Linked DNA regions of Homo sapiens: all the other regions are linked to region 1. Evidence: promoter capture Hi-C in human tissues and cell types (Jung and others, 2019). All regions are on one chromosome and are shown on one strand. The core of a region is centred on a gene start or on the middle of the fragment in contact, and the rest is flanking DNA. Distances in the headings are between cores, read along the strand shown. Region 1 holds the start of DDX28 (DEAD-box helicase 28). Region 2 overlaps LOC124903703 (a long non-coding RNA gene). Region 3 overlaps CTCF (CCCTC-binding factor). Region 4 overlaps CTCF (CCCTC-binding factor). Region 5 overlaps PRMT7 (protein arginine methyltransferase 7).

Region 1 (6,248 bases), core at 1,254-3,753:
AAGTTAATCAATGTCCTCTGTGAGTGAGGGGGAAAAAAGGTAGGCAGTGTCTAGTGATGTGACAAGAAGAAATTAGTGGCCACGGACACAGACAGGCTTAGGCAAGCTCTAACTCCTGTGAAATTTTGAGGTAATCATATTGTAAGGACTCAAGCATAATGAGAAAACAACTATATATTAACCAGCTACCCTACCCTGGATATTTGAACAAAACCCAAAAACCCAAATGCATATACATACCTATTATTTTGTTCTGATACTTCAGGATTACTTTGATATATGTGTTCTGGCTTTGTACAGAGTAATTCTTTGTTTGATATCTGAAAAACAGTGGCACATGGAAATGGATGAAACCTGTTGGGACAAACATCCAAGGGACCTTTTTTTTTTTTTTTTGAGACAGAGTCTCGCCCTGTCGCCCAGGCTGGAGTGCAATGGTGCGATCTCGGCTCACTGCAACAACCTCCGCCTCCCGGGTTCAAACGATTATCCTGCCTCAGCCTCCCGAGTAGCTGGGATTACAGGCATGAGCCTGGCCCCAAGGAACTATTTGGATAAGGAGAAGCCCTGAGTTTGGAAAGAATCATAAAAGTAGCATAGAATTGGGCCGGGCACAGCGGCTCACACCTGTAATCTCAGCACTTTGGGAGACCAAGGTGGGCAAATCATGAGGTCAGGAGTTTGAGACCAGCCTGCCCAACGTAGTGAAACCCTGTCTCTATTAAAAATACAAAAATTAGCTGGGAGTGGTAGCGCACACCTCTAATCCCAGCTACTCAGATGGCTGATGCAGGAGAATCCCTTGAACCCAGAAGGCAGAGACTGCAGTGAGCTGACATCGCACCACTGTACTCCAGCCTGGGCAACACAGTGAGACTGTCTATAAAAAAAAAAAAAAAAAAAGTATCCAGCCATTGTCAAATATGGTGGGAGGGAAAGGGCAAAATCACCCTTGTTTTAGAACCACTACCCTATCCAATGACTGTTCATTCACCCATCACTACTCAAAACTTTCTCTTCCTACTTCCAGATATTTTCTTGTGGAGAAAAAAAGCCTCTCTTCCTCTGATTTATCTGGTAACTCTCCAGAAAGTCTAATTGTGTAGCACAAGGGTAGAGTGTACTTAAAATTGTGAAAGTTTTTCCTCATACTATTCCAAAAAAAGCAAAGTTTTTATCTTTTCATTGGTATTTGATGAAACTAAAACGTTTTCTCCAGATGTTACGAACCTCCCAGAGAGTTAATCCATAAATATTTACCTTATCTCCCACCCCAGGCACTGCAAATTACAGAAAAGATCTGACACCCATTTTCCAGATCTGTTCAAGAAGTATCTGTTGGGCATGGTGGCTCACGCTTATAATCCCATCACTTTGGGAGGCCGAGGTGGGAAGATCGCTTGAGGCCAGGAGTTCGAGACCAGCCAGGCCTACATAGTGAAACCCTGTCTCTACTAAAAACAGAAAAAATTAGCCGGGCGTGGGTGGTGTACGGCTGTAGTCTCAGCTACTTGGGAGGCAGAGGCAGGAGAATCACCTGAACCCAGGAGGTGGAGGTTGCAGTGAGCCGAGATTGCGCCACTGCACTCCAGCCTGGGTGACAGAACGAGACTGTGTCTCAGAAAAAAAAAAAAAAAAAGTGACTCGTATAGTTCTTGTTTTTACAACCCGAATATCTGAATTCAGGTAAAATATTCTGCCTGACCAGGGCTACATGATAAGCCACGTACTTGATCACTTTGTAGGGTCGCAGCACCCTTCTTACTACTATTTTAGGTAATTCAGGTTTCTGACGGGGAAGCCAGTGGAGCTGAGCGGGCTGCAAGAGGGGTGGGTTCTGGATGAGAAGTTGGGACGCGTGACGAGGGAGTAGAGAGTGAACCTTGGCTTAAAAGGAAGGAAAATAACTGTGAAGAAAAGATGACCCAACTTGAAATAAAACCTGAAGACCTTATCTCCCACTTGAGAGAGAGAAGAAGCTGAAAGCCATCAGCTTGCACTCTGGGCTCACAGACAGAGAGGGTGAGGGGTTGAGCCCAGATCTATGACTTCAGACCCCTGTCTCGGCCCCTAGGCCTGATCATTCATTCAAACTCTCAATAAACACGGATTACCAGACCCTGCGCAGGGAACACATCTGGGAAAACAGCTGCAACCTCGGATACCAGCACGGGACAAGCTATCTCAGGGCAATGAGGAACAACTAAAGAGAATCCCAGGAACCAGGTAACCAATCGCCAGAAGCCCTCCGCCCTCATGGTCCATTGGGTCAAGGCCCCACTGCCGCCTCGTATCGCCAGCCTCCAGTCCTGCCTCCACGACGCGCCCTTCCCCAAGGCTGGCCGGGTCTGGATGTCGCCATCCCCTATTCGGAGCTACAGACCTCGCAGCTGAACTCTTAAAAAGAACCTCGCTTCTTCCTCACGGTGCTCCAGCTCCACACACCGTACTGAGCCTCGCCAGCCACCGTACGCGAGGTCGCGGCGCGTCCGTGACGTCACTGATGTGCGCTTCTCCCGCACTAAGGGAAACATGGCTCTAACGCGGCCGGTGCGGCTCTTTTCCCTCGTGACTCGGTTGCTCCTGGCGCCGCGACGGGGCCTCACGGTCCGCAGTCCCGACGAACCCCTGCCGGTGGTGCGCATCCCAGTGGCTCTACAGCGGCAGTTGGAACAGCGGCAGAGCAGGCGGCGGAACCTCCCGAGGCCGGTGCTGGTTCGACCCGGACCGCTGCTGGTTTCGGCGCGGCGGCCGGAGTTGAACCAGCCGGCGCGCCTCACACTGGGCCGTTGGGAGCGCGCGCCGCTAGCCTCTCAAGGCTGGAAGAGTCGACGCGCGCGTCGGGACCACTTCTCCATCGAGCGCGCGCAACAGGAGGCGCCAGCGGTGCGAAAGCTCTCGTCTAAGGGCAGCTTTGCTGACCTGGGCCTGGAGCCCCGTGTGCTGCACGCACTACAGGAGGCTGCGCCTGAAGTCGTTCAGCCCACAACCGTGCAGTCTAGCACCATCCCCTCACTACTTCGCGGCCGCCATGTCGTTTGCGCCGCAGAAACCGGCAGTGGCAAGACTCTCAGCTACCTCCTGCCGCTGCTTCAACGGCTCTTGGGCCAGCCAAGCCTGGACTCCCTTCCTATCCCCGCGCCCCGAGGCCTGGTCCTTGTTCCTTCCCGAGAATTGGCCCAACAGGTGCGGGCTGTGGCCCAACCCTTGGGCCGCTCCTTGGGCCTGCTGGTGCGGGACCTGGAGGGAGGCCACGGCATGCGTAGGATCAGGCTGCAGCTGTCCAGACAGCCTTCAGCAGATGTGCTTGTGGCCACTCCAGGGGCTCTGTGGAAGGCCCTGAAAAGTCGACTGATCAGTCTGGAGCAACTCTCCTTCTTGGTGTTGGATGAGGCAGACACACTGCTGGATGAAAGCTTCCTGGAACTGGTGGACTACATCTTAGAGAAGAGCCACATAGCAGAAGGCCCAGCTGACTTGGAAGACCCCTTCAATCCCAAAGCTCAGTTAGTGCTGGTAGGAGCCACATTTCCCGAAGGTGTAGGCCAGTTGCTGAATAAAGTCGCCAGCCCAGATGCTGTCACCACCATCACCAGCTCCAAGCTCCACTGTATCATGCCTCATGTGAAACAGACATTTCTGAGACTGAAGGGAGCAGATAAGGTGGCCGAGCTGGTGCACATCCTCAAGCATCGTGACAGAGCAGAAAGGACTGGTCCCTCAGGAACTGTTCTGGTGTTCTGTAATAGCTCCAGCACTGTGAACTGGCTGGGATATATTCTGGATGACCACAAAATCCAACACCTAAGGTTGCAGGGGCAAATGCCAGCCTTGATGAGGGTAGGAATCTTCCAGTCCTTCCAGAAGAGCTCCCGAGACATACTTCTCTGCACAGACATAGCCTCTCGGGGCCTGGACAGCACTGGTGTGGAGCTGGTTGTCAATTATGATTTCCCCCCAACGCTGCAAGATTACATCCACAGAGCAGGGAGAGTGGGCCGTGTGGGGAGCGAGGTGCCAGGCACCGTCATCAGTTTTGTGACCCATCCCTGGGATGTGAGCCTGGTTCAGAAGATTGAGCTGGCGGCTCGCCGAAGGAGAAGTCTTCCAGGACTAGCATCCTCGGTGAAAGAGCCTTTGCCCCAAGCAACCTGATTTTGACAAATCTGATTAAAATGTGATGCTAGAACAGGGATCTTTCCCAGTATCTTGAGTGGGTGACCACACTTGTCAGTGGGAGGCTCTGGGCTGCCCTGTCGGCTCCTTGAGGGCGGGATGAACTGCTTTGTGACTTGGAAAGGTACGCTGCTGGCCAGCATTGGAGAAGAAGCTGCTGAGCATGGCTTTCTGTAGTCTTTAGCAAGACACAAGTGGATTTTGACTTTGTATCATGTCATGATTTCTAACAATAAATGATGTTTTTATGTGCCTCCCCTAAGAATAATTAGCACCGGGGCGGAATTCAGTAGTTTCTGAGGATTCATACACCAAACCTCCACATCTAGGACAAAGGCTCTTTCAGTTGATGTTTTCATTTATAAACATTTAGTTTGTATTTCCTGCCCCCAAAAAGGTATCCATTAAGCCCCCAGGGAAAGGAAAGGAAAGGAAATGTGACTAGCAGTAGACAGAGTTACTCTCTAACAATGCCCAAGACAAACGGGCGTCTTGGCGAAATCTCTGGAAGGTACTGGCAGAAAAGTAAAGGGTAGACGAACACAGAAGTTTTGCTTGTACATTTTCAGGTTCTGCCTTCTATCCCAACTCGGTAGCCGAGAAAGAGGAGAGATGATTAAACGGTTTTACAAAACTGGAAAAATAACCATATAGCATTTTCTTTATATATATATATACGTATATATATATATATATATATATATATACATACGTATATATATATATACACATACATATATATACGTATATATATATATGTATATATATATATACGTGTATATATATATACGTGTATATATATATGTGTATATATATATATACACAAAAAAAAATTACAAAAATCAACCCGGCGTGGTGGCACGCGCCTGTAGTCCCAGCTACTCGGGAGGCTGAGGCAGGAGAATCACTTGAACCTGGGAGGCGGAGGTTGCAGTGAGCCAAGATCATACCACTACACTCCAGCCTAGGGGACAGAGCAAGACTCCATCTCAAAAAAAAAAAAAAAAAAAAGCCGGGTGTGGTGGCTCACGCCTGTAATGCCAGCACTTTGGGAGGCTGAGGCAGGAGGATCACCTGAGGTCAGGAGTTTAAGACCAGCCTGGTAAACATGCGAAACCCCATCTCTATTAAAAATACAAAAAAATTAGCTGAATGTGGTGGTGCACGCCTGTAATCCCAAATACTTGGGAGGCTGAGGCACAAGAATGGCTTGAATTCTGGAGGCGAAGGTTTCAGTGAGCCAAAATTGCACTTCTGCACTCCAGCCTGGGTGACAGAGCTGATATTCTGTCTCAAAAAAAATAACAGAATCCTGAGCCCCACTCCAGATGGGATTAAGCTCTCTAAAGTTTGACCTGAGAATACTCTTTGTAAACTCCCCCAGGTGATACTTGGGCCCTCCCAAATTGATAAACCATTTGTCTATGCTGTACTGCCTTTCCCAGAGTCCCAGCAAATTCCTGTAAGGCTTTGTACCCCCACAAGACAAGAGGGATGCTTCCGGACAAGTACTCTCTCCAGAGCCTTGGAGAATCTGAGTGATCTCATGCTAGCCCTCCTGCCAGAACAGACTTCCCAGGAACCATCCCCTTGATATTTTACCTCCTACCACTCCCTGCAGGCCATCAATTAGCACCACACTAAAGCAACTTATGAGAGAAGGTGCTATGATTCTCAACCGGGGTGACCCAGTCTCCAAAGATCGGGCCGTCTCTACCTCCTGGGCATATCCCCTCTGCAATAACCCCACTAAATAAATGTCCCATGTTTGCTTTTTCAAGGCCAGTAATAGGGAGACCTCTCCTTAAGGTCATCTCTCTTTGGTAGGAAGTTCTTGGCCACACTGAACCAAAGGCTGCTCCTAGTGTGGTCCTGATCAGGCTAAGGGCAGAGTTGCCTGTTTCCTTTGAGTAGGACCAAATCGCCTTTTTTTAAATATAAAAAAAATAGACACAAGGTCTAGCTATGTTACCCACGCTGGTCTCAAATTCCTGGGCTCAAGAGATACTCCTGCCTCCACCTCGCAAAGTGCTAGGATTACAGGTGTGAGCCGCCACGCCTGGCCCTAATGA
Region 2 (6,248 bases), core at 1,942-4,441, 470 kb after region 1:
TGGCCTTGAAGCCTGCTTTCTGAAGACAAGGACCCTATGTACTGCTCTCACATAGGGCTGAGAAAATGCGAAGGATCACTAAGGAAGGAAGAAAAGAAAATATTTTCTGGCTGGGCGTAGTGGCTCACACCTGTAATCCCAGCACTGTGGGAGGCCGAGGCAGGCGGATTACCTGAGGTCAGGAGTTTGAGATCAGCCTGGCCAACATGGTGAAACCTCATCTCTACTGAAAATATAAAAATTAGCCAGGCGTGGTGGCACACCTGTAATCCCAGCTACTCGGGAGGCTGAGGCAGGAGAATTGCTTGAACCTGGGAGGTGGAGGTTGCAGTGAGCCGAGATTGCGCCACTGCACACCAGCCTGGGCGACAGAGCGAGACTTCATCTCAAAAATAAATAAACAAACAAAATATTTTCTTGTCTTTATGGTAAATCTTGATGTGTCCTACTTTATGGAGTCAGCTCCAAAGATGAAGGAACAGAAGGCCAAACAAAAGGAATAGAATGTTTGAGGCTGGAAAGAAACAAGCTGAGGGAAAATATGATGACAGGCTGTGAAACAGTTGAGGTGATAAAAATAAGGCTAGGCTGGGCACGGTGGCTCATGCCTGTAATCCCAGCACTTTCAGAGGCCGAGGTGGGCGGATCACTAGGTCAAGAGATTGAGACCATCCTGGCCAACATGGTGAAATCCCGTCTCTACTGAAAATACAGAAATTAGCTGGGTGTGGTGGCGTGTGCCTGTAATCCCAGCTACTCAGGAGGCTGAGGCAGGAGAATCGCTTGAACCTGGGAGGCGGAGGTTGCAGTGAGCAGAGATCGCACCACTCCACTCCAGCCTGGCGACAGAGTGAGACTCTGTCTCAAAAAAAAAAAAAAAAAAGATCTGGCCTTGAGCCTCACGTACAGGACCAGAAACCCAATGTGGTTTGTACCCTAAGAGCAGATTCCTTCCTCGGGGATTTGTCAGGCTCACAGGCGCTTGCTAGATAAGCAGAGTGCTGTTAACAACGGGCAAGTGGACCAGTGTCCTCGTGCTGGCAAAAGGCATATTGATCCCCTATAGGAGAGCATTCGGGGAAGCCAAATTACTAGAAATATTTGATGAGCAGTTAATTAGATTAACTAGTGTTAGTTATGTAACTTAAATGTTTAATGTCACCCTCTCTGGATGCTAGAATTAGATTGTTCGGGATTCAAGTCTAGTCTTGGTTTTTTATTAGCCGTGTGGTCTCTGTTGAATTCGTAACAACTCAACTATAGATTTCTCTTCTATAAAATGGGATGATAGGTTGGGCGTGGTGGCTCATGCCTGTAATCACAGCACTTTGGGAGGCCAAGGCAGGTGGATCACCTATGGTCAGGAGTTCAAGACCAAAAATACAAAAATTAGCCAGGTACGATAGTGGGTGCCTGTAATCCCAGCTACTCAGGAGGCTGAGGCGGGAGAACTGCTTGAATCTGGAAGGCAGGGGTTGCAGTGAGCCGAGATCGCGCCACTGCACTCCAGCCTGGGTGACAGAGGAGACTCTGTCTCAAAAAAATAAATAAATAAAATGGGATGATCATTGTGCTTGATACAGCCATAAGGATTAGACAAGAAATAAAGCAGCTTTTTTTTTTTTTTTTTTTTTTGAGACAGGGTCGCATTGTCCACTGTTGCCCAGGCTGGGGTGTGGAGTGCAGTGGCGAACTCTGCTCACTGCAACCTTTGCCTCAGCATTCTGAGTTGCTGGGACTATAGGCGAGTGCCAACACACCTGGCTAAGGTTTTTTGTTTTTTGTAGAGATGGGGGTCTTACTATGTTGCCCAGGCTGGTCTCGAACTCCTGGTGTGAAGCAATCCTCCTACCTCAGCCTCCCAAAGTGCTGGGATTACAGGCATGAGCCACTGCACCCAGCCAGAAATCATTATCCTATGATTCTCAGGAGAACAGTTGTATTTCCAAGATCTTCCTTGGCTCCTATTGTTACCCCTGTAAAGCTTGCAATAATTATGATCATTTACATGTTTTTTAAAAACTCTTTAATCAAGATAATCAACAAACGAAGGGGAGACATATTGATTTTCTAAGACATAATGAGCAGGGAATCTTCCTGCCCTCCTTGGGGTAAGGCCTAAAGTTACATGTGAACACTCTGGTTTTCTCTATACCTGTTGAGAACATGTGTGAGACATGATGCAGCTCATCAAGTAATTATTGAATACTTGGTGTGTGTAGCTTCCTGTTCTAGGCACTGGAGATTCAAAGATGACTCACGATGTGTTTCCTGCCCTTGGACTCAAAATTTAACTAGTAAAACTGGTTAAAACAAACACACAAAAAATTAATGCAATAACTGTTATAGTGGAAAGAAATGAGCTCACAGCTAAAGGAGTAAATCACTCCAGGAGTATCTCATTTCAGCTGGGTCTAAAGGATTAGCAAAGCATTAACAAGTGACACGAAGACATGTAAGGTGAAGAGCCATGATCAAAGGCATAAAAGTCTACAAGAGTATTTGGGGGACAGCGAGTCATCTTACACCATTGGATGAGGGTGTAGAGTAGTGATGCTAAACCTTTAAAGACATTTGGAAAGCTTTCATTGTCTGCCAACATCAACTGCCAAGCCTAACCACTTCTAACATTTAAATTTTTTTTTTCCCCAAGATGGAGTCTTGCTCTGTTGCCCAGCCTGGAGTGCAGTGGTGCAATCTTGGCTCATTGCAACCTCTGCCTCCCAGGTTTAAGCAATTCTCCTGCCTGAACCTCCCAAATTGCTGGGATTACAGACACGCACCACCATGCCCAGCTAATTTTTGTATTTTTAGTAGAGATGGGTTTCACCATGTTGGCCAGGCTGGTCTCAATCTCCTGACCTCACGATCTGCCTGCCTCGGCCTCCCAAAGTGCTGGGATTACAGGCATGAGCCACCAAGCCCGGCCTATTCTAACATTTTAAAGACTCATCCTTCCATATCATCTCCTGCCTAGACTGTAGGAGTTTTTTTCCTTATTAATGTCTGCTTTCTTCAGACCCCTGTGAAAGCCTTATTTATTTATTTATTTATTTATTTATTTATTTATTTATTTATTTATTTTGAGACGGAGTTTTGCTCTTGTTGCCCAGGCTGGAGTACAATGGCATGATTTTGGCTCACCACAACCTCCACCTCCCGGGTTCAAGCAATTCTCCCGCCTCAGCCTCCCAAGTAGCTGGGATTACAGGCATGCGCCACCATGCCCGGCTAATTTTGTATTTTTAGTAGAGACGGGGTTTCTCCATGTTAGTCAGGCTGATCTGGAATTCCCAACCTCATGTGATCTGCCCACCTCAGCCTCCCAAAGAGCTGGGATTACAGTCGTGAGCCACCACGCCGGCCTATTTATTTATTTATTTATTTTGAGGTGGAGTCTCGCTGTGTCGCTCAGGCTGGAGTGCAGTGGCGAGATCTCGACTCACTGCAGCTTCCGCCTCCCAGATTCAAGCAATTCTCCTGCCTCAGCCTCCTGAGTAGCTGGGACTACAGGTATGTGCCACCATGCCCAGCTAATGTTTTTGTATTTTTAGTAGAGATGGGGTTTCACCCTGTTAGCCAGGATGGTCTCGATCTCCTGACCTTGTGATCTGCCCGCCTCAGCCTCCCAAAGTGCTGGGGTTACCCCGGCCAGCCATATTTATTTTTTACCTCTCAGCTCAAATGACTGCTCTTAAAGGTATAAAGGACTGTTGCTAAACCTATATCCAATGTTTTAGAAGTTGATTTTGTTTTCTGTGCTGTTACTTACTTTTCCAAACATGCATGGATCACCCTTTATAATCCATCTCTATATTTTTCATTTTGCAAAACACCTTCATGTCTGCCTTTTCAAGTGATGCTCACAGCTCTATTTGATCAGCCAGGCAGTTTTGTCCTAAATTCAGAAATGAAGTGACTTGCTCAGGGTTGTCCGGCAACTTGTTGGCAAAATCAGAATGAGTACAGTAGTCTCCCCCTTGTTCACAGCTTCACTTTCTGCTATTTTCTGCTATTGGTTACACATGGTCAACTGCAGTCTGAAAATACTAAATGGAAACTTCCAGAAATCATGTTTCGAATTGCACACCATTCTGAGTAGAGTGGTGAAATCTCACAACATCCTGCTGCATACTGCCTGGAATGTGACTCGTTCCATTGTCCAGCATACCCATGCTGTATATACTACCCACCTATTAGCCACTTAGTAGCCATCTCAGTTATCAGATTGATAACACATACTATATATAGGATTCAGGACTATCCTTGATTTCAGACATCCACCAGAGAGCTTGGAACATATCCCCCATAAAAAATGGGGGACTGTAGGCTTGGTGTGATGGCAATCACGGCCTATAATCCCAGCACTTTGGGAGGCTAAGGTGGGTGGATCACGAGGTCAGGAGTTCGAGACCAGCCTGACCAACATGGTGAAACCCCGTCTCTACTAAAAATACAAAAATTAGCTGGTTGTGGTGGTGTGTGCCTGTCATCCCATCTACTCAGCAGGCTGAGGCAGGGGAATCACTTGAACCTGGGAGGTAGAGGTTGCAGTGAGCCAAGATTGCACCACTGCACTCCAGCCTGGGCGACAGAGCGAGACTCTGTCTCAGGAAAAAAAAAAAAAAAAAAGATGGGATCTCACTCTGTCACCCAGGCTGAAGTGCAATGGCGTAATCATAGCTCACTGCAGCCTTTAACTCCTGGGCTCAAGCAATCCTCCTGAGTCGCTAGGACTACAGGCACATGCCACCATGTCTGGCTAATTAAAAAAAAAAGAATTATTTATAGAGACAGGGTCTCACTATGTTGCCCAGGCTGGGAAGGGCTTTAATTGTGGAAACTTCAGGCTCTCAGGCAGACAGCAGAGGTATTTAGGTGATGACTTATTAATCTACAAGTATGTCCTGAATAACTGCTTAGGACCCAGGTCTATGTTCAAGGTTAGGTACTACCAGAGATAGATAGAGGATGTCCCTAGCCCTCGAGTGCCTTCTATTTCGTTTTATATTAGTGTGGAAATATCAGACTAAACCTTGAGTATTAGAAGGTAAAAGTCAAGGATGAAAAGGGAAGTGTAAAGGTATAGGCTACAGGTGTGGAAGGAATGGAGCGGAGCAGTCACTGGACATCACAGTAGTCATATGAAACCGCATGCTAAAGCGAGCATGACTTTCAAGCCTCTGCTTCTAGCCTTTACCCACTCTGGCCCAGGCTACTCTTGCTTCTTTTTTTTTTTTTTTTTTGAGATGGGGTCTCACTCTGTTGCCCAGGCTATCAGGCAGTGGTGCAGTCACAGCTCACGCAGCCCTAACCTCCCAGGCTCAAGTTATCCTCCTGCTTCAGCCTCCTCAGTAGCTGATGCTACAGGTGCACACCACCGTGCCCAGCTAATTTTTGTATTTTTTGTAGAGATGGGGTTTTGCCATGTTGCCTAGGCTGGTCTCAAACTCCTGAGCTCAAGCAATCCACCTGCTTCAGCCTCCCAAAGTGCTGGGATTATAAGCGTGAGCCACCAGGCCCAGACTCTTGCTTCTTCTAATGTAACTGCAGGCTCCTCCCTGCTTCCGGCCTCCTCCCTCTCACAGCTGCCAGAGTGACCTTCCCAAAGCACACACGTGATCACAAAACCCCCCTGCTTCAAGCCCACTGGTGGCTCCCCGGTACCCTGGGATAAATTCCAAACTCAGCCACTCCACAAGGCCTCCCATGCTCACCAAGCCCCTGCTCACCCCCTCAGCCTCATCTCTAACTGCCCCCTCTGGCCCCTGGGGATTCAGCTTGCTTGCTTCCTCCACCAGTCTGACCTCAGTCCTCCCTCCCTCTGTTGTCCCCTCCTCAGGCTTCTGTTCCATTCCTTAATTGGGATCCTGGTGGTGAAAGTGCATTCTAAAGCGCTATGCCCCATGGGGGGGACTAGGGAGAGTGTTTGAGTTTCCAGGCTTCTTCCACACTGAACATATGGTACTTTCACACTCAAAGTGCTTTTCAGGTTGCTTTTGACATAAGACAAGGCCATCAGTTGGGGAGGTGTATGTAAGGGAAACCAGAGCTAGAGACAGGTTTTAGAGGTATTCATCAGAAGATATTTCTGGACCACTTACTGTGTATCTGGCCTTGGGTGCTGGGCATAGCAAAGGCAGATGCAGCCTGAACAAATAGAGAATTGGCTGGCCCTACGCCAGATTTGCTGAATTGGAATCTCCAGGGAAGTTCTCAGGTGAATCTTAGAACTGGGTAAGTTGGAA
Region 3 (6,248 bases), core at 2,491-4,990, 430 kb after region 1:
AAAGAGGAAAAGAAAAAAAAAGAAAGATACTCCCCAATGTTGTCCTTGGTGCAGTGAAACTAGCACAATTCTACTGAAGGTAATTGGTGGTGTGAATCGTAGACATCAAAAATAGTGCTTTAATACATAATATGGAGAAAATGTTTGTTCTATATTTAAAAAGGGAGGGCGGACAGGAGAGGCAGAATGGAATCACTGTTAAGAGTCAGAGACGTGCATCCCAATTCTGGTTTTTCTAATTAGCATTGTGACCTGGGGTGAGATATGCTACCTTCTCGCTGCAGTTTTCTTTTCTATAAAATAAGGAAATGGTACCCATTTCACAGGCTATCATAAAAACCCAATGAAACAATACATGCATGGTGCCAACTGCCATCCTCTGTATCCTTATACCGCCAGCCAAGAAGACATTCAACATGGTTAACTCAACAATATATGCTTTTTTGGCTTCTTAGCTTTCTAATTAGATTCCTAGAATCTAATCTTATCTAAACCTTTGATAAATTTTCCCCACAAAAATGACTTCTCTGATAAAGTACTGGATTTCTGTACGATGAAGGTACAATCAGTTGACAGAAGCTGGTGACTGACTAAATCCAGGAATGAAGGAGAAAGAGTAAAAAAGAAACAGAACAAGCCAGACATGGTGGTTTGTACCTATAGTTCCAGCTACTTGAGAAGCTGAAGCAGGAGGATGGCTTGGGCCCAGAAGTTTGAGGTGAGTCAAAGGAAGGGTGGGGGAGGGTGGTAGGAAGAGACAGAACAGCTTTGCAGGCTGGCCAGTCTTGTTCTATCCAGAATATTGACGCCACATTAAACCTTCCTGAAATGAGGCTCAAAAATTCCAAAAATTCATGATTGGTGATGCTGACTGAATCAGGTCCAAATTCTCCATCTTAGCTCCCAGAGCTCTGTACAGTTTGTTCCCATTCCCTTCCACCCACCCAACCTCACCTTTGACTATTTCCTGCTGGGCATCTTCTATATCAGTATCTGATGTCTTGTCCCTTCCCAGCTCAAGTCACCTTCTAAATCAAAGTCATCTCAACCTTGACCAGTACAAACTGACCACAAGTTTTAACTGTAGCATAATGTTCTATGTGTTTTTCCCCCAGTATTAGCTTTTTAAGGGCAGTAACTATGCCTTTTGTTTCTGTAGTCTCTACAGCAATGGATACAAAACAGTGTTAGACAAACAGGAATTCTCACTGACTTTGTCAGATGAAACAGGTATAGATGGTTCCTGCACAGGACAAGAGCAGGAAGGGAACATGGAAAAACAAAACACTGTTTATATGCTAAGTGAAAGCCTAAGTATACGAATTTACCTTTATTGCTCTCTTTGCATCACTATTTTTTTAGTGATGCGAAGTTTTTTTACGCATCACTATTTTTTTAGTGATGCAAAGTTTAGAAACTTTGAAAGACAAAGTTTCATTATGTTGCCCAGGCTGTTCTCGAACCCCTGGGCTCAAGGGATCCTCCCACTTCATCCCCCACAAAATGCTGAGAATATAGGCATGAGCCACTGCAACTAGCCTGTGTCAATTCTTACACCTTTTTTTTTTTTTTTTGAGACAGGGTCCCACCCTGTCGCTCAGGCTGGAGTGCAGTGGCACAATCAAGGCTCACTACAGCCTTGACATCCTGGGTTCAAGTGATCCTCCTACCTCAGCCTCCCAAGTAGCTGGGACTACAAGCATGTGCCACCATACTTGGTTCATTTTATTTTACAGAGATGGGATCTCACTGTATTGCCTAGGCTGGTCTCCTAAGCTCAAGTGGCCTCCCAAAGTGCTGGGATTACAGGCATAAACCACCATGCTCAGCCTGTGTCACTTCTTAATAGAGAAAAATAAAAATTCCCAAAAACACAATTACAGGTTAGATTTTTTAAAATCCTGCCATGTAAAAATGGAAGCTAATTGTGAATACACTAATTTTTGAAGATATTAAGGTTTAGTAATTTATCACCTATGATTATGACTACATAGCAAATATGTCAGACAATTTCCAAAGGAAAACAACCAAAACAACCTTTTATACTCACCACTGCAGAGTTTAGTCAGTTAAGTAGACTGGTTATTATACTAGGAATAATCCATGTGTACTGAGAATAAGACAGTAGAAGAGAATGATTTCCAGCAGTCTATTTTATAACTAAACCCACAACTTTTTAATATACTGCTTACTATCCATTATAAGGGGCAACTGATTGCTAAAAACCCCAACTTATTTCCTGGGGAGATCAGAAGTCTATCTGCATTCTCTTGGTAAGAAATACATTAGCAGCTCTAAGACCCCATGAACTTTCACAAGCCACAGAAATTCTGAAAGTCAACATGAAGGGTACCTAACAAATGGCCTAACAGAGGTTGATACGAACCCTCAGACATCATAAGAAGGCAGAGAACGCACAGCCATAAAAAAGAATGAAATAATGTCCTTTACAGCAACACAGATGCAGCTGGAGGTCATTATCCTAAGCGAATTAAGGCAGGAACAGAAAACCAAGTATCTCATGTTCTCACTTACAAGTGGAAGCTACACACTGGGTACACATGGACATAAACATAACAATAGGCCTTAGGGATTAGGAGGGGGAGGGAGAAAACGGGGTAAGGGCTGCAAAACTAATCATTGGGTACTATGCTCATTACCTGGGTGATGAGCAACAATTGTACCCCCAAACCTCATAATCACACAATATACCCATGTACACAAAAAAACTTGGACATGTACCCCCGAATCTAAAATAAAAGTTGAAATTGTAAAAAATTTTAAGAGAACAGAAGATACCTTGCACCTTTCTCTTTATATGTATAAAATATATATTAAAAACCATATATTAAAATATAAAAAAGATATACAAATATATAAATATAAAATATATATTAAACATTTATACATATATATATAAATTTTTTTTTTCCAGATGGAGTTTCACTCTGTCACCCAGGCTGGAATGCAGTGGCGCGATCTCGGCTCACTGCAACCCCTGCCTCCAGGTTCAACCGATTCTCCTGCCTCAGCCTCCTAAGTAGCTGGGACTACAGGCACATGCCACTGTGCCCCGCTAATTTTTGTATTTTTAGTAGAGACGGGGTTTCACCATGTTGGCCAGGCTGGTCTCAAACTCCTGAGCTCAAGTGATCCACCCACCTCGGCCTCCCAAAGTGCTGAGATTACTGACGTTGAGCCAGTCACCAACGCCTGGCCTCTGTAAGTATCTTTTTTTGATGTTGTTGTTTTTGAGACGGAGTCTCACTCTGTCACCCAGGCTGCAGTGCAGTGGCACGATCTTGGCTCACTGCGACTTCCGCCTCCTGGGCTCAAATAATTCTAATGTCTCAGCCTCCCGAGTGGCTGGGACTACAGGCGCATGCCACCATGCCGGCTAATTTTTATATTTTTAGTAGAGACAGGGTTTCACCATACTGGTCAGGATGGTCTCAAACTTCTGAGCTCTGGTGATCCTCCCACCTCAGCCTCCTAAATTACTGGGATTACAGGCATGAGCCACTGTGCCTGGCCTTATTTATTTTTTTAGACAGATTCTTGCTCTGCCACCCAGGCTGGAGCGCAGTGGCACAATCCCGGCCACTGCAACCTCTGCCTCCAGGGTTCAAGCAATTCTCCTGCCTCAGCCTCCTGAGCAGCTGGGATCACAGGCGTACACCACTATGCCCAGCAAATTTTTGTATTTTTAGTAGAGACAGGGTTTCACTATGTTGGCCAGGCTGGTCTCAAACTCCTGACCTCAGGTGATGTGCCCGCCTCATCCTCCCAAAGTGCTGGGTTTACAGGTGTGAGCCACTGCGTCCAGTCGATAGATCTTTACATTAGAAAAATGTTGACTGAAAAGCTTAGTCTGGTATTCTCACTATACAGAATGTTAAATGACATTAGGACAAGGAGGGGAAAAAAAGCAATTATAAGTCATCAGGTCGGGCACAGTGGCTCACACATATAATCCCAGTACTTGGGGAGGCAGAGCCAAGAGAATCGTTTGAGCCCAGGAGTTCAAGACCAGCCTGAGCAACATAGTGAGACCTTGTCTCCATTAAAAATTAAAAAAAAAATTAGCTAGGTATGATGGCATCCATCTGTAGTCCCAGCTACTCGGGACTGAGGCGGGAGGATCGCCTGAGCCCAGGCTGCAGTAAGCTATCATCACACCACTGCATTCCAGTCTGAGTGACAGCGCAAGACTCTGTGCCCTTACTGCCCCCCCCCAAAAAAAGTAATCAGTTTTTCCTGAGGATGAAAGGAAAAGCTAAGTAACTTTTACTAGATGCAGGACACTAGCCAAAACGAATAAAAGTTATTAACTCTTTTAGAGTAAAAGCTAGGTTTAAAAGTTAAACAAAATAACCATTTTACTCTGCTATTCCTGAAAACATATACGCCATCATCTTATCTGAGAGCTTAAAATACATCAAAGCAAAGTATCAGTGAACTAGTACCAGGAAAGTTGTAGACTACAATAAAGAATGAGGAGGAGTTGAATTGGGAGAATAACTTGGGCTGAGAAGCAGAAAAATAATAGTGACCATTTCTTTCACAGTGACTGGGAACGGAAGCAGCCTTTATCTGAAAAAGCACTCATCTATTTAATCACAACTGTACCTCTCACTTCTCTGACATTAATTTTCATTTATTTTTTGAGACAGAGTCTCGCTCTGTCACCCAGGCTGGAGTGCAGTGGTGAGATCTTGGCTCACTGCAATCTCTGCCTCCTGTGTTCAAGCAATTCTCAGCCTCAGCCTCCTGAGTAGCTGGGATTACAGGCACGCATCACCACGACTAGCTAATTTTTGTATTTTTCGTAGAGATGGGGTTTCATCATGTTGGCTAGGCTAGTCTCAAACTCCTGACCTCAAGTGATCTGCCCGCCTCGGCCTCCCAAAGTGCTGGGATTACGGTGGCTCACGCCTGTAATCACAGCATTTGTGTGAGCCACCCAGTCCAGCATTTTTTTTTTTTTTTTTTTTTTTGAGACAGAGTCTCACTCTGTCATCCAGGCTGGAGTGCAATGGTGCCATCTCAGCTTACTGCAACCTCCACCTCCCGGGTTCAAGCGATTCTCCCGCCTCAGCCTCCCAAGTAGCTGGGATTGATTACAGGCACCAAACATCATGTCCGGCTAATATTTGTATTTTTAGTAGAGACAGGGTTTCGCCATGTTGGCCACGCTGGGCTTGAGCTTCTGACCTCAGCTGATCCACCCTCCTCAGCCTCCCAAAGTGCTAGGATTACAGGTGTGAGCCATCACACCTGGCCGATCACCGTGCTCGGCCAATTTTTAAAAGAACAGTTAGGGCCGGGCACGGTGGCTCACGCCTGTAATCCCAGCACTTTGGGAGGCCGAGGTGGGCAGATCACAAGGTCAGGAGATCGAGACCATCCTGGCTAACACAGTGAAACCCTGTCTCTACTAAAAAAATAAAAATAAAAAATTATAAAATAACAGGGCTTTTTGTATGTGTGTGTGTAGAAATAATTAAAAGGGAAATGAAAATGTTTCTTCTAAGTTAAAAAAAAAGTTAAGAGCATTCTAGTATTTTGTTAACAATCTCCCCTCCCATTTGTTAATATTAAAGGGTATGGTCAAAACAAAACAATTATTCTAACAGCTACTTGAAGAAAGCCCACTGAAGCTTTGAATCTAGGAAATACGTACTAATAAAATATTTGTAATGGCAACAGTGAAACTAGTATGGGAGGAGGGGAAGGAGTTCTTTTGCTACAAAGAATAATAAAGGCTAGACAATAATTCTTTCGCCAAAAGGTGGCTGACGCTGCTGTAGAAAGGAACTCTCTTCTTTAAAAAAAAAAAAAAAAGTTCTAACTGTTCTTTTTCTTTTTTTGAGACGGAGTTTCGCTCTTGTTGACCAGTCTGGAGTGCAATGGCGCCATCTTGGCTCACTGCAACGGCCGCCTCCTGCGTTCAAGTGATTCTCCTGTCTCAGCCTCCTGAGTAGCTGGGACTACAAATGCCCACCATCATGCCAGGCTAATTTTTGTATTTTTAGTAGAGATAGGGTTTCACCATGTTGGCCAAGCTGGTCTCAAACTCCTGACCTTAGGTGATCCAGCCATCTTGGTCTCCCCAAATGCCGGTATTACAGGTGTGAGCCACCGCGTCCAGGCTCTTTTTCAAGTTAATGGAAGAAATCGGGTATTAGGTGTTGAAGCGTCATTTGGGGCTGGAGGCAGGGAAGGGAGAGAGAGTACAAGCATATGTA
Region 4 (6,248 bases), core at 1,357-3,856, 410 kb after region 1:
CTCCACAATGGCTTCGACTGCATCACCTTCCATTTCCCCTGCCTTTATTAAGGGAGAACACAGATTGTTATTTAAAGCAAAGCATGTCTAAATAAAAATATACATTTTAAAACAAAAAGACCCTTTGGTGAATGAATTAGGCATCAATGGTTGTTAATATTAAAAAAGACACAACAGACATGTGCCTCTTGATGAAAGAAACAACCACTACTGGCCAGGTGCAGTGGCTCACGCCTGTAATCCCAGCACTTTGGGAGGCTGAGGCGGGCGGATCACGAGGTCAGGAGATCGAGAACATCCTGGCTAACACGGTGAAACCCCGTCTCTACTAAAAATACAAAAAAAATTAGCCAGGCATGGTGGCGGGCGCCTGTAGTCCCAGCTACTCGGGAGGCTGAGGCAGAAGAATAGCTTGAATCCAGGAGGCGGAGCTTGCAGTGAGCCGAGATTGCACCACTGCGCTCCAGCGTGGGGGACAGAGCAAGACTCCATCTCAAAAAAAAAAAAAAAAAAAAGAAAAAGAAAAAACCACTACCTATAATGCAATTTTGTCAAACAAACTCCAAAACTCTGAAACCAATCAAGTCTCTAGATCCAACCCAATTAACAGGAAATTGGTGACTCAGGATGTTAAATTATACTACAGGGATTAAATCAGTGAAATCCATACCGAGGGAAACACTGCAAGATTATACTCAGGTTCTTCTGCAAATAGATAACAAGAAGAATACAAGGGAAGACTGATTGGAGGGAGAACCAGTAGATCAGTAGTTCTCAGCCTGGGGTGACTTTGCCTCTAGGAACATTTGGCTAACACATTTTTGGTTGTCACTACTGGGCTGGGATGTGCTACTGTTATCTCGTGGGTGAAAGCTAGAGATGCTATTAAACATCCTCCAAGACACAGGTCAGTCCTCCACCACAAAGAATTATCAGGCCAGGCCGGGCACGGTGGCTCACGCCTGTAATCCCAGCACTTTGGGAGGCTGAGGCGGGCAGATTACCGGAGGTCAGGAGATCGAGACCATCCTGGCTAACACGGTGAAACCCCGTCTCTACTAAAAAATACAAAAAAATTAGCCGGGCGTGGTGGTGGGCGCCTGTAGTCCCAGCTCTTGGGAGGCTGAGGCAGGAGAATGGCGTGAACCTGGGAGGCGGAGCTTGCAGTGAGCCAAGATCGCGCCACTGCACTCCAGCCTGGGCGACAGAGCGAGATTCCATCTCAAAAAAAAAAAAAAAAAGAATTATCAGGCCCAAGATGTCAAGAGCACTGAGGCTGAGAAACTCTGATACAGATAAAAGAGTCTTAAAGAGACAGTAATCAATCACAATGCATGAATCTTCTTTGGATCCTGATTCAAACCAATAAATGGTGAAAAAGATGTGACACAAGACAATTAGAAATTTCAACTCTGGATATCTGATGATATTAAAGAATTACTAACAAAACTAATTTAAATCTTACACATGTAGTGGGGAAGACACTGGTAAAGGACATATAATTTCAGTGGGAATAAGTTCAAGAGATCTATTATACAACATGAATATTACAGTTAATAATAACGTATACCTGAAAATAACTGAGAGCAGATTTTTAAGTGTTCTCATCACAAAAAATGACAAGGATGTGAGATGATGCATATATGAATTAGCTTAATTTTCTGCAATTATGGGGTCTTGCCACATTTCCAGACTGGCCTTGAACTCCTGGGCTGAAGCAATCCTCCCACCTAAGCCTCCCAAAGTGCTGGGATTATACATGTGACTGAGCCACTGTGCCCGGGTCTGCCAATGTTTTGTAAAAAGCTTTATTAAGGTAGCTTTATTAAGCACGTGGTGGCTCACGCCTATAATCCCAGCACTTTGGGAGGCTGAGGTGTGTGGATCACCTGAGGTCGGGAGTACGAGACCACCCTGAACAACATGGAGAAACCCCGTCCTAAGTAAAAATACAAAATTAGCCAGGTGTGATGGTGCATGCCTGTATGTAATCCTGGCTACTTGGGAGGCTGAGGCAGGAGAATCGTTTGACCCGGGAGGTGGAGGTTGCGGTGAGCCAAGATTGCGCCATTGTACTGTGCAGCCTGGGCAACAAGAACGAAACTCCGTCTCAAAAAAGAAAAAAAAAAACACTAAATACACCTCCAAAATTTCCTTGTATTTTGTTTTTGGTGATAATATTTATCATGAGATCCATCCTCAACATAATTCAAAGTGCATAATGCTATACGATTAATACAGGAACTATGTTGTGTAGCAGATCTCTAGAACTTACTCATCTTGCATAACTGAAACTTTATACCCACTCAACAGCAATTCCCCATTTTCCCCACCCTGTCAAGGGTTTTTGACCTTGTTTTTTGAAGCCAAACTCAGAACTTAGATCCAGACTGCAATGGCCGTGTTTGTAGACACTGCACAAAACTGCCCATGTCATACCATCAACTTGACATTCACCTCTCTCCTGACAATGAGATCAGGAATTCCCTGAGAATAAGAACCACATCTAACAAGTCGTTTTTTTTTTTTTAATTTTTTTTTTGAGACGGAGTCTCGCTCTGTTGCCCAGGCTAGGGTGCAGTGGCACGATCTCCGCTCACTGCAAGCTCCGCCTCCCAGGTTCACGCCATTCTCCTGCCTCAGCCTCCCGAGTAGCTGGGACTACAGGCGCCCACCACCATGCCCGGCTAATTTTTTGTATTTTTAGTAGAGACGGGGTTTCACCATGTTAGCCAGGATGGTCTCGATTTCCTGACCTCGTGATCCGCCTGCCTCGGCCTCCCAAAGTGCTGGGATTACAGGTGTGAGCCACTGCGCCCAACCGGTTTTTACTTTTTTTTTTTTTTTGAGTCGGAGTCTCGCACTGTCGCCCAGGCTGGAGTGCAATGGCGTGATCTTGGCTCACTGCAACCTCTGCCTCCCAGGTTTAAGTGATTCTCCTGCTTCAGCCTCCGGAGTAGTTGGGATTACAGGTGCCCACCACCACACCTGGCTAATTTTCTGTATTTTTAGCAGATACGGGGTTTCACTATGTTGGCCAGGCTGGTCTTGAACTTCTGACCTCGTGATCTGTCCGCCTCGGCCTCCCAAAGTGCTGGGACTACAGGCGTGAGCCACCACGCCCAGCCACGGTTTTTACTCTTTAGCACTGTGCCCAGGATGGTAAGTACTCAATAAATGCCAACCAAATTGAATATATAATAGAAAGCAGAAAACAAATCAGCCAATTCATAGTTTTTGGCTCTTATATCTTGTGAATGGGCCGGGCACGGTAGCTCACGCCTGTAATCCCAGCACTTTGGGAGGCCAAGGCTGGTGGATCAGTTGAGGCCAGGAGTTCAAGACCAGCCTGGCTAACATGGCAAAACCCCATCTCTACTAAAAATACAAAAATTAGCCAGGCGTAGTGGTGTGCACCTGTAATCCCAGCTACTTGGGAGGCTGAGGCACGAAAAGAACTTGAACCCTGGAGGTGGAGGTTGCAGCGAGCTGAGAAAGTGCCCCTGCATTCCAGCCTGGGCGACAGAGTGAGACTCGGTCTCAAAAACAAAAAATAAAAAACAAACAAAAATCTTGTGAATGACATTACCTAAACAAGAGTAAAATAGGGGCCAGGCGTGGTGGCTCAGGCCTGTAATCCCAGCATTTTGGGAGGCCGAGGCGGGCAGATCACTTGAAGTCAGGAGATGGAGACAAGCCTGGCCAACACGGCAAAACCCCGTTTCTATTAAAAATACAAAAATTAGCCAGGTGTGGTGGCACATGCCTGTAATCCCAGCTACTCAGGAGGCCGAGGCAGAAGAATTGCTTGAACCTGGGAGGTGGAGGTTGCAGTGAGCTGAGATTGGGCCACTGTACTCCCTCCAGCCAGGGCAACAGAGCGAGCCTCTGTCTCAAAAAAATAATAATAATTAAAATAAAATAAAACATATATAGCTGAGTGTGGTGGGGTGTGCCTCTAATCCCAGCTACTTGGAAGGCTGAGTGAGGCTCGAGAATTGCTTGAAGCCTGGAGGCGGAGATTGCAGTGAGCCGAGTGCCACTGCACTCCAGCCTGGAGCCTGGGCGATAAGAGTGAAACTATGTCTCAAAAAAAAAAAAAAAAAAAACCCAAAACAAAACATTGAAGTGTTTTGTATTTTTGGCCAAGAATACAGCTCAAACGAAGCTTTTGTTAGTTCTATTAGACACACTTTTCTCCAATTCTCTGTCTAGGCACCTTAACATTGTATTATATCCATGATAGCAGTCAGAGAAGACTCCTTAAGCCAGGACCACCTGAGAGGCAGCACAAGAACTACTACAGAGAGAATGACATTACCTAAACAAGAGCAAAATAGGGGCCGGGCGTGGTGGCTCACGCCTGTAATCCCAGCATTTTGGGAGGCCTGGTCCTACATTCTAGGAGTTACTGTCTAACATAAAGGACAAAATAGGTAGCACAATGGTTCAAGGTGAAATTACATAGGTTTGGAGAAAGATAACATAACCAGGTGTGATAGAAAAATGCTTCATAAATGTGGAATTTGAACGGAACCCTGAAACGTGAGCAGGACATTTAAAGGCAGAGTTTGACAGTGGAGGGCAGAGGATGTATTCTGTAGGGGAAAGGTTTGGATTTCTGGGTACAATAAATACATGTGGGAATTAGTTATGAGTAAGAAAAAGAACTGGCTTAAAGCACAGGACAGAGGAGAGGGTAGTAAGACAGGTGAAAGATGTGCTGGTTGCCCCCCATAGTTTGGATGGTCTTGAATAACAAAATACCTCAGATGACTGGCAATGGAAAACCACTTATGCTTTCTGGGCAGAGAAGTAAAGATTCACTCATTTCACAAAGAAGAAGACTTAATTTCCTCAAAAAGTGTGTCTCTACTTTTGCAAAAACTACATGATGCACTTACCACCCTTCTGGCTCACAAAGCCCCTTCGTACCTGACCCCATGATAACCTATTCAGATTTATGTCTTGCCCTCTAGCACTCTCCCCTTCAGTCAAGCTGTCTTTTCATCCAGACACAGTTCCTACTGTCATCTCCCTGTCTTCACTCTGTACTTTACGTCTGATCCACTCCTCTCAACACCAGCTCATCCCTGGCACAACAAAGCTTTCTGAGGTTCTTGTGGCCACTACTTTGCTCCAAATGTGTTTCTGATAAAATAAGGACACAGTTTAGCACTTAAAATTTTCTCAAAACGATCTATTTTCCCAGTTGGGTGTGAAAGCTCTTTAAGGGCAAAAGCCGGGCTTGAAGCAACATATACTTTTGGACAGATTCAGCAAACCCCACCATCTGCCTGGAAAAAAACAAGGCTCAAGGTAAACTCCCGAGGTTGTTGGATTGCCAGTTTGGTTTATTCTTCCATTACCTTCTTTCTTTCATTAGTCCCTTGTTCTCAACAACCAAGAGAAAAATACAACAACATCCAATGCAAAGGCTTCTTACTATGCTGTTCCATGACAGTGGGGACAAATATAAAAAAATGTTACCGCAGAAGGTGGGGATCAAAGAACATTTGTAGAATGCTTTATAATTCACCTATAAATTAAAAATGAGCAAAGTGCTAGTATTTTTATTATAAGATGTCATTTAGGCCAAGCGTGGTGGCTCACGCCTGTAATCCCAGCACTTTGGGAGGCGAAGGCGGGTGGATCATGAGGTCAGGAGACCGAGACCATCCTGGCTAACACGGTGAAACACCATCTCTACTAAAAAATACAAAAAATTAGCCAGGAGTGGTGGCGGGTGCCTGTAGTCCCAGCTACTCGGGAGGCTGAGGCAGGAGAATGGCGTGAACCCGGAAGGCGAAGCTTGCCATGAGCCGAGATTGCGCCACTGCACTCCAGCCTGGGAGACAGAGCGAGACTGTCTCAAAAAAAAAAAAAAAAAAAAAAAAAAAATCCCATTTATACCTCTGATTGTAAAAGACTAAGCATAATCCTAACTATAATTAATTTTATATACTCAGTACTGTTCAGACAGATTATCTTTAGAATATAAATTCTCTAGGCTGGCACTGTTCAATAGAAATATAATGCAAGCCACAAACATAAGCCACATTATATGTAATTTTAAGTAAAAAAAATTCATATTAAAAAGTAAAAAAAAAAAACAAAAAACAAAAAAAAAAAAAACCCTGGTGAAATTAATTTTAGTAATCTATTTTACTTAACCTGGTATGTCCAAAATATCATTTCAAGGTTTCATCAATTTAAAAAATTGTTGGCCGGGTATGGTGGCTCATGTC
Region 5 (6,248 bases), core at 2,046-4,545, 310 kb before region 1:
GAGGAAGCCACTTGTCAGGCTGAGGATCGGAAACAAAGTCACATTTACAAGGGATTATGGATGAAGCACAACTGACAATCTACTCACTTTACAAAAATTACCTAACTCCTTTACATGACAGGCCCGGAGCAAATAACGGAATGGAATAGTTAATACAACCCACGCAGTGCATGACCTCAGGATGCCTCAGCTGGGTGGGGATACAGACATTAAATACATAACTACATAATGATTTAATGATTGCAGTGGTAAGCGCTATGAAGAAAAGTATTACGAAATTGGCCAGGCGTGGTGGTTCATGCCTGTAATCCCAGCATTTTGGGAGGCCAAGGCAGGCAGATCGCTTGAGGTCATGAGTTCAAGACCAGCTTGGCCAACATAGTGAAACCCCATCTCTACTAAAAATACAAAAATTAGCCAGGTGGTGGTGCATGCCTGTAATATCAGCTACTTAGGAGGCTGACGTGGAAGGATCACTTGAATCCGGGAGGTGGAGGTTGCAGTGAGCCGAGGTCATGCCACTGCACTCCAGCCTGGGCGACAGAGCCACTCTATCTAAAAAAAATTTTTTTTTTTAATAAGAAATCATATGAGGGGCCTGGCCTAAGCTGAGGTGTGTGTGAACAATGCTGCCTGGAGGCAGAGTCAGCATACTTCATGGCCAAGGCTGCCCTGCAGATCAGTCTCCCTGCCGTCAAAATGGATAAATTTTCAAGAATAAATGATCTCGCCAGGTACAGTGGCTCCCATCTGTGATCCCAGCACTTTGGGAGGCTGAGGCAGAAGGACTGTGTGAGGCCTGGCGTTCAAGACCAGCCTGTGAAACAAAGCGAGACCTAGTTTCTTTTCTTTTCTTTTTTTTTTTTTTTGAGCCAGAATTTTGCTCTTGTTGCCCAGGCTGAAGTGCAATAGCGCAATCTCGGCTCACCGCAACCTTTGCCTCCCAGGTTCAAGCAATTCTCCTGCCTCAATCTCCTCAGTAGCTGGGATTACAGGCATGCACCACCACACCTGACTAATTTTGTATTTTTAGTAGAGACAGGTTTCTCCAAGTTGGTCAGGCTGGTTGCTACTCCCAACCTCAGGTGATCCGCCAGCCTCGGCCTCCCAAAGTGCTAGGATTACAGGCATAAGCCACTGCACCCAGCCGCAAGACTTAGTTTCTAATAAAAATTTAAAAAAACAAAAAAATTAGTTGGGTATGGTGGCGCCTGCCTGTGGTCCCAGCTACTCAGGAGGCTGAGGCAGGAGGATCACTTGAGCCCAGAAGTCGAGGCTGCAGTGAGCTGTGTTCGCATCACTGTACTCCAGCCTAGGCAACAGAGTGAGACTGTCTCAAAAAAAAATAAATAAATGAATCAATCTCCACTCTGGCCATAGTGGAATAAGTGGGATCAGGCTTACCCTCCGGCTGTTATCAACTAGAAAACTGGGCAAAATATATGAAACAAGTGTTTTCAGATGTTGAGCAAGAGGCAACACAGTTTGCTCCCTAAGAAGGGAAACAAACCAAGTAACCCTTACCCTGCTCTGGCTATCAGCCAGGAGACCCTTTCCAGACCACAGTATAGGGTAAGAGGTGACACAGAGCACGGCAGTCTTGCTGAGTTAAACAGACAGGAAACGAGTTCAGGGAAGTGGAAGCAGCTGGAACTTGCCAGGCAGAGAATCAGAGAGGAAATTACACAGAAAAAAAGCCTTCAGAATGCTGCACAGGGTTCCTCTAGGGTCTGTGTTAATACATTCACACACACACAGGGTAATACTCTGTGAAGCCGAGCAAAGGTTGCATGAGTGATAACAATCTCCGGAGCTCTCAGAGGCCTGGGAAACATTCAAGTTCTGATCAGCCAGACAAGGGAAACCCTGCTGAGCACCTAGAGCTCTCAGCAGACACTCCAGAAAGGTTACAGTAACTGTCTGGCTAAACAGCCTTAGAGCAGTGGTTCTCAACAGGTGGCAATTTTACACACTCGAGACCAAGGAAGACGTGGCAGTCTGGAGACATTTTTAGTTGGCAAGAATGGTGGGAGGAGGGGAGTGCTACTGACATCCACTGGGAAGAGGCCAGGGACACTGCTAAACATCCTACAATGCAAAGGACAGGGTCCACAACAAAGAATTATCAAAATGTCACATAGTTGGAGAATGCCAAAACGTCACAGCACTACTGTTGAGAAGGCCTGACTTAAAGCTACTCTAACCCCACTCCAAAGAAAGCTTAAACAAGCCCTGAAAGGATCAATCTGAACTGCAAGTAACCCAACTGCATGCCAAAGTTTAAAAAGCAAAACCAACGAAGTCTAGCACTCAACAATGGGGAATTCCAAATAGCCACAGCATCCAAACAAAAATGGTTAGACATGTGAAGAAGGAAAATGTGACCCAGAATAAGGATAAAAATGAGTCAAGAGAACAAACCCAGAAAAAACAAAGATGGTGGGAACAGAAGATAAGGATGTTCAAAAAGCTAAAATAAATGTGCTTATAGAAAACTATGAACATGAGAAAAATGGAAGTTATGAAAAAGAATCAAGTGGAACTTTCAGAGATTAAAAAATACAATATCAAAAATGAGGCCAGGCACAGCGGCCCACGCCTGTAATCCTAGGACTTTGGGATGCTGAGGTGGGAGAATCGCTTGAGCCCAGGAGTTTGAGACCAGCCTAAGCAACAAACTGAGATCCCATCTCTACAAAAAAAAATTTTTTTTAAGTTAGCCAGGCATGGTGGCATGAGCCTGTGGTCCCAGCTACACAGGAGGCTGAAGCAGGAGGACTGCTTGAGCCCAGGAGGTCAAAGCTGCAATAAGCCATGCTCACACCCCTGCACTCCAGCCTGGGGGACAGGTCAAGATCCTGTCTCAAAAAAAAAAAAAAAAGAACAACAAAGAAAGAGAAATGAAAAGTTTACTAAATATACTTAACAGCATATTAGATGCTGCAAAAGAAAAGATCAGTGAATCTAAAGACCTATCCAAGAAATCCCTGTCCATCAACAGGTAGAGAGATAAACAAGTTATGGTACATCTATCTAATAGAGTGCTGCTCAGTAACACAAAAGAACGGACCCCCAAGACATGAACAGTGTGGAAGAATCTTACCAGCATCACGCTATAAAAAAGAGAGCACACACACAGAAGAGTCCACACTTCTTTGATTCCACTTCCTTGAAATCCTAGACAGGCAAATCTAATCTATAATGAAGTCTATGAGTGGGTGCCTAGGACCAGGATATGGGGGGACTGATAGAAAGGGTTATGAGGAATCTCTTTGGGCATGATGGAGATGTTCTATTATCTTCATTATGGTGATGGTGGTTACAAGTGTGTTTATATTTGTCAAATATCCATAATGAAAATGGATATTCATTTAATGTAAATCATACTTCAATAACGTTGATTGTAAATGGAATGATTTGAGCACTCTATTGTATATTTTAAAAATAAAAAAGATAGGCCGGGCGCGGTGGCTCACACCTGTAATCCCAGCACTTTCGGAGGCCGAGGCAGGCTGGTCACCTGAGGTCAGGAGTTCGGGACTAGCCTGGCCAACACGGTGAAACCCCGTCTCCACTAAAAATACAAAAATTAGCCAGGCATGGTGGTGCACGCCTGTAATCCCAGCTACTCATGAGGCTGAAGCAGGAGAATCGCTTGAACATGGGAGGCAGAGGTTGCAGTGAGCTGAGATCCTGCCATTGCACTCCAGCCTGGGCAACAGAGTGAGACTCTGTCTCAAATAAATAAATAAATAAGATAGTACCCACTTCTTTTGTACATGTTTCAGATTCTCCATTAAAAAAAAATTGTTAAATGGGAGAATAATGTTGACCTTAGGTAGAAGCTTCAATTCAGAATGATACTGCATTCTCCAAAACCGTGGTGAAAAAGCCAGGTGCAGTAGTGCACACCTGTAGTCCCAGGTACTTGGGTCGCTGAGATGGGAGGATCACTTTAGCATAAGAGTTTGAGTCCAGCCTGGGCAACATAGTAAGACCCTATCTCCACAAAAAATTAGAAAAAACCCATGGTGTTATCCATAACTTCACCACAGTTTTTCCTTTGCAAATCTTTCAACTATGTTCTCTAAGTGTCAGTGGCATGTGAAATTTTCAAAGACTGAAACAAAGTTCTAGACTATAAAAAATATTCTGGAGGCCAGGCATGGTGGCTCACGCTTATAATCCTAGCACTTTGGGAGGCTGAGGCAGGCGGATCACCTGAGGTCAGGGGTTCAAGACCAGCCTGGCCAACATGGTGAAACCCCGTCTCTGCTAAAAATACAAAAAGCAGCCAGGTGTGGTGGCAGGCACCTGTAATCACCGCTACTTGGGAGGCTGAGGCAGGAGAATCACTTGTACCCAGGAGGTGGAGGATGCAGTGAGCCAAGATTGCACCACTGCAATGCAGCCTGGGTGACACAGTGAGATTCCGTCTCAAAAAAAAAATATGTGTGTGTGTGTGTGTGTGTGTACATATACATATTCTGGAAACCTTAAGAGACAATGCTATACAGGAAAATTGTTCATGTTGTATGCAGAAGCAGAATGTCAGAACTACTCTCGCCATTCTCCTGCCTCAGCCTCTCCAGTAGCTGGGACTACAGGTGCCCACCACCATGCCTGGCTAATTTTTTGTATTTTTAGTAGAGATAGAGTTTCACCGTGTTAGCCAGGATGGGTGAACCCAGGAGGCAGAGCTTGCAGTGAGGCAAGATAGCGCCACTGCACTCCAGCCTGGGCGACAGAGTGAGACTCTCTCTCAAAAAAATAAATAAATAAAAGAACTAAGTACTTTCTGCCTGATGAAACTCAGAGTTGAGCTTTGAGCAGTGGCAGTATCGTAGCCAATGAGGTTTATCCAAGGCGTAATTATTGGTAGTTGAAACTCAAGAGTTGAGCCCCATAAGAATTCCAATTTGCTTAAAGCAAATGTAGGTTTTGTTTGCGTCTCCATTGCTGGACCTGACTAGCTCTAGTCTACTCCTTGTTGACTAGTTTTAACTAGCAGGAAAATAAACATCAAGAGAAACCAAGTCCTTACTGTCAGAGCTCCACACAGAGAGGTCCCACTTCTATGCTATGACCTGGATTTGTTCCAGGTAACTGGAATAACCCTTTTCCTCTCTCACACAAGAGCAAGCAAAGCTTTCAACACAGGGTGTGTAAATCTCACCTGGACCTACAGTCACCTCGGTGGAATGCTTGTTGATAACCTTAATCTTATCACTAAAGCCATTTTTCTCCACAATCTTCACAGCAGCATCAGCCATAGGCTTGAAAACCTAGAAAATAGAGCCGAAACCCAAGGAAAAATGAGCAATAAATTAAACAGTAGTCTGACCTTTAAGGTGAGCAAGCTATTCCTTGATTCTGGTCCTAAGATATGTAACTTAAATACTTTATTCTCCAAATGTGCATCATGAAAAAGGGCTGAGATTCAGCTGGCTTTAACTTGTGATTAGGGACTCTCATTCCGTGCCAGGCACAGCGGGGATGCCGGGGATCCTGAGGAGGCTGCACTACTTAGTAAGAGCAGTAGGTGTCAGTACCGCACAAGAGGACGCCAAAAAGCCAGGAAAGGGACTTGCCTCACGAACCTGGGAGGCGTGCTGTGCCCTCCAGAGGAGAGCAGACTGTAGGTGTGAGTAAGTAGGTCATCCTCTGGGCTCAAAATTGTCCCAAATCCCCACTGTTGGCAGAACACAGCCTCTATTTTCTTATGGTGCAGCAGTGCCTCTTGTCCATGGGGGATACATTTTAAGACCCTTGGTGGATGCTTGAAACCTCAGACAGTACTGACCCTTATGTATACCATTTTTTTTTTTTTTTTTTTTTTGCTATACATACATACTGTTCCATGGTGGGCAGCTCTATGCAAACCTACCCCAACAGGCCACGGGAGCTGAGAGGCTGAGGAAAGACTGGCAAATCCAGCTTCTCAGAAAGACACACTTTATAGAGACATACAAACAGAAGCCTTGTCTCGGGCAGTGAGAAACTGGGCCCCCACACTGTTATGGCTCAGACGCAGGGCTTACATACCACAGGGAATTTGACGAAGGGCAGGATTTACGGTAAGTATGTATTTATGATAACATCAAAGTTGTTCTGACCTGAGGGCAGGATTTACATCAAAGTGCATGAGAGCGGAAATTTTAGAGGCATTCCTGAAGCTGGGGTTGGTCAGAAGTCAGCGTGGAGGATTAGCATTCACAGTGGAGCTGCTTCAGCCTCCAAGCTTACCT

The links. Contacts are between HindIII fragments. The study calls those that stand out against the background at their distance.
Region 2: a fragment that was not itself captured here is called in contact with the fragment with the promoter of DDX28 in region 1 in 1 of the 25 tissues and cell types used here (bladder).
Region 3: a contact is called between a fragment that was not itself captured here and the fragment with the promoter of DDX28 in region 1, in 1 of the 25 tissues and cell types used here (heart left ventricle).
Region 4: a fragment that was not itself captured here is called in contact with the fragment with the promoter of DDX28 in region 1 in 3 of the 25 tissues and cell types used here (aorta, dorsolateral prefrontal cortex and spleen).
Region 5: a fragment that was not itself captured here is called in contact with the fragment with the promoter of DDX28 in region 1 in 2 of the 25 tissues and cell types used here (dorsolateral prefrontal cortex and lymphoblastoid cells).

Annotation. Positions count from the first base shown.
Region 1 is chr16:68,019,487-68,025,734 of GRCh38, reverse strand. It overlaps DDX28 (DEAD-box helicase 28), which reads left to right and starts at 2,503. Exons shown (of 1, transcript NM_018380.4): 1 at 2,503-4,819. The coding sequence starts at 2,533. The coding sequence ends at 4,155. DUS2 (dihydrouridine synthase 2) reads right to left here and starts at 2,451. Exons shown (of 17, transcript NM_017803.5): 1 at 2,384-2,451; 2 at 241-320. RefSeq lists enhancers at 2,351-2,590, 2,301-3,051, 3,052-3,802. The HindIII fragment of the contact is 9,907 bases long and covers 1-6,248 here.
Region 2 is chr16:67,552,090-67,558,337 of GRCh38, reverse strand. The region is part of intron 1 of LOC124903703 (a long non-coding RNA gene); the gene reads left to right. Among named protein-coding and RNA genes, the nearest start is that of CTCF-DT, 7.1 kb to the left of the region's middle. RefSeq lists enhancers at 5,141-5,640, 5,641-6,142. The HindIII fragment of the contact is 4,862 bases long and covers 761-5,622 here.
Region 3 is chr16:67,589,710-67,595,957 of GRCh38, reverse strand. All of the region lies in intron 2 of CTCF (CCCTC-binding factor), which reads right to left. Among named protein-coding and RNA genes, the nearest start is that of CTCF, 30 kb to the right of the region's middle. The HindIII fragment of the contact is 6,285 bases long and covers 598-6,248 here.
Region 4 is chr16:67,604,618-67,610,865 of GRCh38, reverse strand. CTCF (CCCTC-binding factor) reads right to left here. Exons shown (of 12, transcript NM_006565.4): 3 at 1-42. The coding sequence starts at 33. Among named protein-coding and RNA genes, the nearest start is that of CARMIL2, 37 kb to the left of the region's middle. The HindIII fragment of the contact is 5,706 bases long and covers 1-5,459 here.
Region 5 is chr16:68,328,103-68,334,350 of GRCh38, reverse strand. It overlaps PRMT7 (protein arginine methyltransferase 7), which reads right to left. Exons shown (of 19, transcript NM_019023.5): 6 at 5,177-5,285. It also overlaps the pseudogene RNU4-30P. Among named protein-coding and RNA genes, the nearest start is that of PRMT7, 20 kb to the right of the region's middle. The HindIII fragment of the contact is 4,800 bases long and covers 896-5,695 here.